3 separate regions of the Homo sapiens genome follow, and regions 1 and 3 are each linked to region 2. The links are contacts of gene promoters, found by promoter capture Hi-C in human tissues and cell types (Jung and others, 2019). All regions are on one chromosome and are shown on one strand. Each heading gives the region's core, a stretch centred on a gene start or on the middle of the fragment in contact. The rest is flanking DNA. Distances are from core to core; before and after follow the strand shown. Region 1 overlaps ACAD10 (acyl-CoA dehydrogenase family member 10). Region 2 holds the start of ALDH2 (aldehyde dehydrogenase 2 family member). Region 3 overlaps MAPKAPK5 (MAPK activated protein kinase 5).

Region 1 (2,944 bases), core at 307-2,806, 70 kb after region 2:
ATAGCTTGAACCAGGGAGACAGAGGTTACAGTGAGCCGAGATCACAGCACTGCACTCTAGCCTGGGTGACAGAGTGAGACTCCGACTCAAAAAAAAAAAAAGGGCGCAACCTCAGTTGCAATCAGGCAAATGTGAGACTCCGACTCAAAAAAAAAAAAAAAAGGCGCAACCTCAGTTGCAATCAGGCAAATGAACATTAAAATAACAGGAAAAAAAAGGCCAGGCCCAGTGGCTTACACCTATAATCCCAGCACTTTGGGAGGCCAAGGCGGGCGGACCACCAGATCAGGAGATTGAGATCATCCTGGCTAACACAGTGAAACCTGTCTCTAATAAAAATACAAAAAATTAGCAGGGCGTGGTGGTGGATGCCTGCAGTCCCAGCTACTTCGGGAGGCTGAGGCAGGAGAATGGTGTGAACCCGGGAGGCGAAGTTTGCAGTGAGCTGAGATAGCATCACTGTACTCCAACCTGGGCGACAGAGCAAGACTCTGTCTCAAAAAAAAAAAAAAAAAAGAGAGAGACCAACCTGGTCAACATGGCGAAACCCTGTCTCTACTGAAAATACAAAAATTAGCCAAGCATGGTGGCACACACCTGTAATACCAGCTACTTGGGAGGCTGAGGCACGAGAATTGCTTGAACCCGGGAGATGGAGGTTGCAGTGAGCCAAGATCACGCCACTGCACTTTAGCCTGGGCAATGGAATGATGCTCTGTCTCAAAAAAAAAAAAAAAAGGAAAAGAAAAGAAACCACAAAGATGGAATTTTCATCTATCACACTAACAAAAATTTTAAAGTCAAACATTTTGAAGTTTCGAAATCATTATACCCTCTGAATTCAATTTTTTTTTTCTCCCAAGACGGAGTCTTGATCTGTCACCCAGGCTGGAGTGCAGTGGTGCTATCTTGGCTCACTGCAACCTCTGCCTCCCGAGTTCCAGCAATTCTCCTGCCTCAGTCTCCCGAGTATCTGGGATTACAGGCATGGACTACCATGCCCAATTTTTTTTTTTTTTTGAGACGGAGTCTCGCTGTATCGCCCAGGTTGGAGTGCAGTGGTGCCATCTAGGCTCACTGCAAGCTCTGCCTCCTGGGTGCACGCCATTCTCCTGCCTCAGCCTCCCAAGTAGCTGGGACCACAGGCACCTGCCACCACGCCTGGCTAATTTTTTGTATTTTTAGTAGAGACGGGGTTTCACCACGTTAGCCAAGATGGTTTCAATCTCCTGACCTCGTGATCCACCTGCCTTGGCCTCCCAAACTGCTGGGATTACAGGCGTGAGCTACTGTGCCCGGCCTAAATTCAATCTTAAAGTGTTTGAGCTTTGGTCTGAAAATGCATTCTTGGAGAAAAATAAAGTAAAATAAAAAATAAAAAAACTAAAATGTTTGGGCTATACTTTGAATTCTTTGTTGTGCGTACTAATTTTATAGTAAACTAACAGCTTAAATCAAGCTTTTCTGAAAAGGGCCAGATGGTAAATATTTTAGGCTTTGAAAGCATTACGGACCCTGTTGAAATTACTCAACTCTGCCAGTACAGGGTAAAAGCAGTCATGGACAATATGTAAACAAATGGGCAAGATGGTTTTCTAAAAAATTTCATTTTTATGGACATTGAAATATGAACTTCACATAATTTTCACATGTCACAAAATATTATTCTTGTTTTGATATTTTTCAATTACGTATTTCAAAACATAAAAGTCATTCTTGGCTGACAGGCCATACAAAAACAGACAGCAGGTGAGGCATGGTAACTCACACCTGTAATTCCAATGACTCAAGAGGCCAAGGCAGGAGGATCACTTGAGCCCGGGAGTTCGACACTAGCTTGAGAAACATAGCAAGACCCCATCTCTATAAAAAACAAAAATTAGGCATAGTGGCAAACACCTGTAGTCCCAGCTACTTGGGAGCCTGAGGCAGGATTGCTTGAGCCCAGGAGTTTCAGGCTGCAGTGAGCCATGATTGTACCACTGCACTCCAGCCTAAGAAACAGAGCGCGATCCCATCTCAAGAAAAAAAAAAATAGTATAGTACAGTAATTCTAGTGTATATATATATATACTTTTTTTTTTTTTGAGACAGAGTCTTGCTCTGTCTCCCAAGCTGCAGCGCAATGGTATGATCTCAGCTCACTGCAACCTCTGTTTCCCGGGTTCAAGTGGTTCTCCCTGCTCAGCCTCCAGAGTAGCTGCAATTTCAGGTGCCCATCACCATGCCCCGCTTATTTTTGAATTTTTAGTAGAGATTGGATTTTGCCATGTTGGCCAGGCTGGTCTCAAACTCATGACCTCAAGTGATCCGCCCATCTCGTCCTCCCAAAGTGCTGAGATTAAAGGCATGAGCCACCGCACCTGGCCAATTCTAGTATATTCTTATCAAATGACCCTTGATATGGTTCATTTGAAATAAATAACATTAGAAGCTCCAGTCAAGCAAAAGACAAAGTAGAAGGCATCACTATTTTGTTCACATTTACCCATCAAACATTTCCTGAATGACTGAGCCAGCCTGCAGAGCTAACACTGCAACAGTGAAGTGAAGAAATCCCAGACCTGGGGTCCTGGAATCCAAGAGCCCCATAGAGGAGACATGAACATATCCCACTGCAAACAAAAATATCTCGGTGAAGGTGAAACTTAATGGGAATTGGCTATCCAGGAACATTCTGCCCAGGTTGCAAATGAGGTTGGAGAAGTCTTGACAGAAGAGGACTCTTGAAGTTAGTAACAACCATGAGATTTACTGAGTGTTCAAAAGATTCCAGTCATTGCTGAATAATATCCCCTTAAATTTGCCATTAAAAGCATCAGTAGGATTTGAACAGGCAGAGGAGGCAGGGAGGAAACACAGCTTGCAAAGGCACAAACATGCAAATGTGCCTGGCATGCCTGGGGAGCATCAGGTAGTCCATAGCAGGAAAGCTAAAACTGAG
Region 2 (3,231 bases), core at 28-2,527:
TTCTGGTTAGGGGCTTACTCCTGGAAGTTCAGCTGTGAACCCCAACTATGCCACTGACTTTGGTCTTTAGGTGAGTCACTAAACCTCTTTGTGACTCAGTCTCTTCATCTGTAAAATGGAGAATTACAGTCCCTTCCTACTGAGGCTGTTGTAAAAATTACCTTAAATTGCAAAACAGGTAGACGCTTAGAACAGTGCTGCACAAAGGCTGTGCAGACAGGACAGGAGCTGTGATTAACTATGAAGTGACTGGTTGATGAGGGCCTGTGTGAACCTAACCCTCAGAGCGCCTTTCCATTTATAGGAGAAAAAGCTTAAGTCAGAGAAGGCAGCCAACATGCACTGGCACAAACAAAACAAACTCTTTCATAACCAATTTCAGCCTCTGTGAAGTCTAGAACTTTAACCAAACTCAAAGATCAAAACAAAAAATATTCCAAAGTATTACTGATTGAGCAATCAATAAATGGACCACAGGAATCAGTTTTATCCTGGAAAGCTCCTCCTTGGTTTGGTCGAAGCCGGCGTTGGAAGCCGCAGACACCCCTTGGGGTCGGCCCCCTGGGGCCGAAGGTCCTCCAGGATTCCCTACTCCCAGCAATGGAAGCAGCCGAGCGTGGCCTCGCCCATGGTGAACTGGAGAACGTGGCTGCAAATCACCTCTTTCCTGGTTTTTCCTTTTGAACTCCTTGGATGAGGGCATGAGTCAGGGGGTAAAGGGGATGACTAAGGAAAAGACAGGAAAGTTCCTGCAAAGAGGGACTTGGTCGCGTCTTCTGAGTGGGTGAGGGTGGGGACCCTGCGGAGACCCGAAAGCAAGGACCATGGGGAGAACGGAACCCCGAGAGTTGGCCCTGGAAAACAGACCGAGGCTGGGCGAAGACGGAGAGGGGGCCCAAGTCACGGGGAAATGGGACGGGGACTGTCAGAGGCGGCGAAGGGGCTAAAATGCTTGCAGGAGAGGAGGGGGCAGATGTGCTTCCAGGTCAGCCTCTGCAAACCCCTCGAGCCCCAGATGAGTACACTAAGGCCCACGGCGGCGCGGGGCCTTCCTAGGGGCCTGCGGGGGACTCGGGCCGGAAAACAAAGCGCGAGCCCGGCCGGTGGGCTCACCTGGTTGCAGAAGACCTCGGGCTGCTGGTTGGGGGCAGGCACGGCCTGGGTGGCGGCGGCTGACAAGAGGCGGCGGCCCAGGCGGGGCCCGAAGCGGGCGGCAGCGCGCAACATCGCAGCGGGCTAGCGGACAGCGAGCGGACCGAGAGCAGAGCTAGGGTCTCAGGGCCACTGAGCCGACCCCGCTCCCCGCCCCGCGCGGCAGCCAATGGAAAGGCGGGGGCGGGCCGGGGGCGGGGCTGCCTCTACCATTCCTCGGGATGGGGCGCGCAGCTGATGCAAGCGAAGCGGGTGGCGCTAGGTACCCCCGGCCCGTGGCTGCCCCCTGGCTCGCGCGACGCCTCCGCGCCCGCCACCGCCCTCCGCCTGTGCGGAAAGACCCGGCCCCGCGAACGCAGCTCGCCTTGGTTGAGCCCCCAATGTGTGCCTTTGACCCCAATGTGAACAGGCCCGAGCCAGGGCGACCCTGACCTTCCCGGCTGATGCTCCAGGTGAAGAGACCGGCCGTAAACCCAAAAGCGAGATCATTTCGGAGGTGAAGGAGATGAACGAGGTGACATGGATGGGGCAGACGGCACTGCTTTTATAAGTACCATGGTCAGGAAATGACAAGTGAGACCTGAATGATGACAGGGAACAGCAAGGGCAAAGGCCAGGAGATGAGACCACCTGGCACGTGTTAGAGAAATGGAAAGAATGAATGGAGCCCAGTTAACAAGGAGAGAGGCGGCCAGGGCAAGGGCAGGGACGGTCTTGGAAGCAGCGGTTCAGAGTTTAGAACAGGATGATTTGCATGATTTGCTTATTCTTTTTTTTTTTTTTTTTTTTGAGACGGAGTCTCACTGTGTCGCCTAGGCTGGAGTGCAGTGGCACGATCTCGGCTCACTGCAAGCTCTGCCTCCCGGGTTCACACCAGTCTCCTGCCTCCGCCTCCGGAGTAGCTGGGACCACAGGCGCCTGCCACCACGCCCGGCTAATTTTTTGTATTTTCAGTAGAGACGGGGTTTCACCGTGTTAGCCAGGATGGTCTCGATCTCCTCACCTCATGATCCGCCTGCCTCGGCCTCCCAAAGTGCTGGGATTACAGGCGTGAGCCACCGCGCCCGGCGGTGGGACTCTGATTTCAACACCAGATTCCACCAAAGTCGCCCTGGGGGCTCAGCACCATTCCACACAAACCAGAGGAAGAAAAGGCATGGGGGTGGCCCATGGGAGGTTTCTGTGGGCTGAGCCTGCTCGCCTGGCTGGATTTCAATCACACAACCATGCCTCCATGCAAAAGAGTCTGGGAAATGAGTGGCCCCTGTGCCAGGAAGAAGGGAAATAGGTTTGGAGATCAGCTGCAGAGATAATCTGATAACCAAGACTCCCTTCCTTCTCTGAATTCAGCCATGCAGGCCCCACTTCCCCTTCCCAATGGCGCCTTGCTTTTTTTTTTTAGATGGGGTTTCACTCTTGTTGCCCAGGCTGGCACCATGTGGGCTCACTGCAACTTCCACCTCCCAGGTTCTAGCGATTCTCCTGTCTCAGCCTCCCAAGTGGCTGGGATTACAGGCGCATGCCACCACACTTGGTTAATTTTTGTATTTTTAGTAGAGATGGGGTTTCATCATATTGGTCAAGCTGGTCTCGAACTCCTGACCTTAGGTGATCCGCCCACCTCGGCCTCCCAAAGTTCTGGGATTACAGGCATGAGCCACCGTGCCAGGTACTTTTTTTCCCTTAATACTGTGTGTGGAGATCGTTTTGTCACAGCACACAAGGACTATGTCCCCATTCTCTTCAACAGTTTCATGGTATTCCTCTGGATACATGAGGTAGTTTTATTTCATGAATTTCCTATGATGGACATTTAGGTTGTTTCCAATCTTTTGCCACTACAAACAATGCCACAATGTATGCTCTTGATTTGCTTAAGAAATTAATAGAAATGAGGCTGGCACCATGACTCGTGCCTGTAATCTCAGCACTCTGGGGGGGAAGCTGAGGCGGGTAGATCACTTGAGGTGAGGAGTTCGAGACCAGCCTGGCCAACATGGTGAAACCCCATCTCTACTAAACACACACACACACACACACACACACACACACACACACACACACACACACACACAATTA
Region 3 (3,272 bases), core at 456-2,955, 120 kb before region 2:
TGTATCTGTCCCAAATGACATGCCAGCTCACAGGTAAGAAGGACAGCACACCAGGTCTATAATTTAGGGTCTTGAATTAATGTGCAGAGACTGCCTATGGAGGGACCTGGGTTCACACCCTGGGGACAAAGTCTAGGGATGCAACAGGAGGGAGGAAAGCTTCATTCGCACCAAGGTGTGGACACTGAGAACAGTCACCTCAGGCTCCAGAGAGATTTCTGTGATATTAAAACGGGGAGGAGCCTGCCTAGGAAACCAGTGACTTTTCTCTACCCACATTCCCTTGTGCTCCACCACCTGGAGGCCTCCTTGGCCTCCATGCCCAGCAGCCCGTGAACTCACTTCCTCACAACATCTTTGGCCATCTCTGAGATCTGACTCCACTCTTCCTCTGGGAACTCAAAACTGCCTGTCATGATCTTTCTTCGCATATCCTTTGGGATAGTCCGGCTGTGGTGTTTGGAGTAAAAAGGAGGGTATCCGCACAGCATCACATAGATAATCACCCCTAGGGACCACAAGTCACAGCTCTGAAAGCAAAAAAGAAAATGGTCACTCACAGCAGAAGCAGAGCCCCCAAATAAACACCCCATGACAGGCTCAGGAATAGCCCCTGCAATATATAGGCTGATATAAACTAGAGTCACTTAACAGAGACTAGGAAAGCTGAAGGAAGTCTTAGGAGAACTAGTCTTTATCTCCATATTTTCTTTCTTTCTTTTTTTTTCTTTGAGACAGAGTCTTGCTCTGTTGCCCAGGCTGGAGTGCAGTGGCGTAATCTCAGCTCACTGCAACCTCCGCCTCCCAGGTTCAAGCAATTCCTCCTGCCTCAGCCTCCTGAGTAGCTGGGATTACAGGCATGTGCCACCATGCCGCCTGGCTAATTTTTGTATTTTTTTTTTAGTAGAGATAGGCTTTCACCATGTTGGTCAGGTTGGTCTCGAACTCCTGACCTCGTGATCTGCCCGCCTTGGCCTCCCAAAGTGCTGGGATTACAGGCGTGACTCACCACACCTGGCCTCTCTCCATATTTTCAATAAGCTGCCAATACTACATACATGCATCCCATCATACAAAGCCAGTCTGGGATAAAATGTACAGGTACTTTCATTCTCACTCTTTAGGCCCAAGCACCTATCTGATCCCTGTGTACAGGTATAGGATGCTTTGCCCCAGCCAGAAAAGAAATAAATATAAACCAGCTGGTTGTGAAACCTCTATGTAGAAACAAAGCAACTAAGAGACAGGTAGGCTCACCTACAGTACAGCACAGGCCACTTCATAAAGGCCCAAAGCAGTTTGACACAGATCATGGAGAGGACTGGAGGGAAGAACAGAAGGTCTAAATGCATTCCTTTGACCATGAAGGACTCACTAGGTCCATTTGCAAGCTCTTACACCATTCTGGGGGAAGATACTGTGAAAAAAAGAAAACTGCTACCAACTACCATGTCTGCAGGTAGTAAGGTGACTCCATGGCCTATATCACTGCATAAAGGACTCCTATTTTAGTTAAATGCAGCTCCATTTGCTTTGAAAACTGGGTTTGCAGAGGCTTCAATTCAAGCCTTTCTTGAACAGCGAGATAAAAGAGGTGCCTGCCTAAGATGGCAGCCCCGTGAGCCTGCCACTGGGGCCCCACACTCCCCCTCACACCACAGCTGTGCGGTGCTCTGCATAAAGGCTGAATAATGGGGTGTCTCAGGTACTCTCGCCTGTATTTTCTTTTTTTGAGACGGAGTCTCACTCTGTCGCCAGGTTGGAGTGCAGTGGCGCGATCTCAGCTCACTGCAACCACTGCCTCCTGGGTTCAAGCGATTCTCATGCCTCAGTCTCCCAAGCAGCTGGGACTACAGGCGCCCGCCACCACACCCGGCTAATTTTTTGTATTTTTAGTAGAGACGGGGTTTCACCACAGTGGCCAGGATGGTCTCGATCTCCTGACCTCGTGATCCGCCCACCTCGGCCTCCCAAAGTGCTGGGATTACAGGCGTGAGCCACTGCGCCAGGCCTGCCCATGTTTTCACATTATACTAGTAGATATTTGTGGATGACACAGCCCATGCTGTAGAACAGAATCACAGAATAAAATTACAGGGGTGGAAAGGGACCTTCAATCCCTCACTTTCCAGAAAGGGAACTAATACTGCAGAGATCATGTCATCTCTCAGGTCCTCTGTCAAGAGTGAAACCAAGTGACCTCACCAATGTTACACAGATTAAGAGTAGTGGAGCCACAGCAAGTGTCCCAGCCTACTGCCTTTTTACCATTCTCAGCCCCTTCTGTCATCTATATCTAGCCTCAAGTCCCCAAGTAGCATCTTTTTTCTGATCTACTTACTCAGTGACTCCAGGGCCTATTTCTAGAGGCCCTAAACCTCTTGTGCTTTAGAACAGATAGGATCGGCTGGGCACGGTGGCTCACGCCTGTAATCCCAGCTCTTTGTGAGGCCGAGGCGAGTGGATCACCTGAGGTCAGGAATTCAGGACCAACCTGGCCAACATGGTGAATCCTCATCTCTCCTAAAAATACAAAACATTAGCCAGGCGTGGTGGCAGGCGCCTGTAATCCCAGCTACTTGGGAGGCTGAGGCAAGAGAATTGCTTGAACCCGGGAGGCGGAGGTTGCAGTGAGCCGAGATTGTGCCACTGCACTCCAGCCTGGGCGACAGGGTAAGACTCTGTCTCAAAAAAAAAAAAAAAAAAAGGAACAGACAGGATCAATATGTGGGCTACAGGCTGGGTGCGGTGGCTCACGCCTGTAATCCCAGCACTTTGGGAGGCCGAGGCGGGCGGATCACTTGAGGTCAGGAGTTTGAGATCAGCTTGGCCAACATGGAGAAACCCCGACTCTACTAAAAATACAAAAATTAGCTGAGTGTGGTGGCATGCACCCATCATCTCAGCTACCTGGGAGACTGAGGCAGGAGAATCGTTTGAGCACAGGAGGTGGAGGTTGCAGTGAGCTGAGATCACACCACTGTACTCCAGCCTGGGCGACAGAGCGAGACTCTGTCTCAAAAAAACAACAAAAAAAATGTGGGCTACAGATTAAGAACCGTAATATTACCAAGTAACACTTAGGAGCCCTTGCTATGTGTATCAGATACTGTTCTAAGCTGGGTGTTTTATGGGGTAACAAAGAATGGTGCCATAAATGACCACAAAGTGTTCTCTAGCGTCTGTGTCTCAGAAATGGCCTCCACCTCAAAAACACAAGCCAACCATATGTTTTCAGTGTGGCCAGTGGACCATATGGACAGTCAAAAAAA

Evidence for each region. The method cuts DNA at HindIII sites, captures the fragments that hold promoters and counts their contacts. A contact is called where the count stands out against the background at its distance.
Region 1: a contact is called between a fragment that was not itself captured here and the fragment with the promoter of ALDH2 in region 2, in 3 of the 25 tissues and cell types used here (IMR-90 fibroblasts, hippocampus and mesendoderm cells).
Region 3: a contact is called between a fragment that was not itself captured here and the fragment with the promoter of ALDH2 in region 2, in 2 of the 25 tissues and cell types used here (aorta and bladder).

What each region holds. Positions count from the first base shown.
Region 1 is chr12:111,695,157-111,698,100 of GRCh38, reverse strand. The region is part of intron 2 of ACAD10 (acyl-CoA dehydrogenase family member 10); the gene reads right to left. Among named protein-coding and RNA genes, the nearest start is that of ACAD10, 11 kb to the right of the region's middle. The HindIII fragment of the contact is 6,900 bases long and covers 1-2,944 here.
Region 2 is chr12:111,764,979-111,768,209 of GRCh38, reverse strand. ALDH2 (aldehyde dehydrogenase 2 family member) reads right to left here and starts at 1,277. Exons shown (of 13, transcript NM_000690.4): 1 at 1,114-1,277. The coding sequence starts at 1,227. RefSeq lists a silencer at 1,270-1,589 and an enhancer at 1,049-1,818. The HindIII fragment of the contact is 11,183 bases long and covers 1-3,231 here.
Region 3 is chr12:111,880,839-111,884,110 of GRCh38, reverse strand. MAPKAPK5 (MAPK activated protein kinase 5) reads right to left here. Exons shown (of 14, transcript NM_003668.4): 9 at 343-530. Among named protein-coding and RNA genes, the nearest start is that of MAPKAPK5-AS1, 39 kb to the right of the region's middle. The HindIII fragment of the contact is 4,003 bases long and covers 1-3,272 here.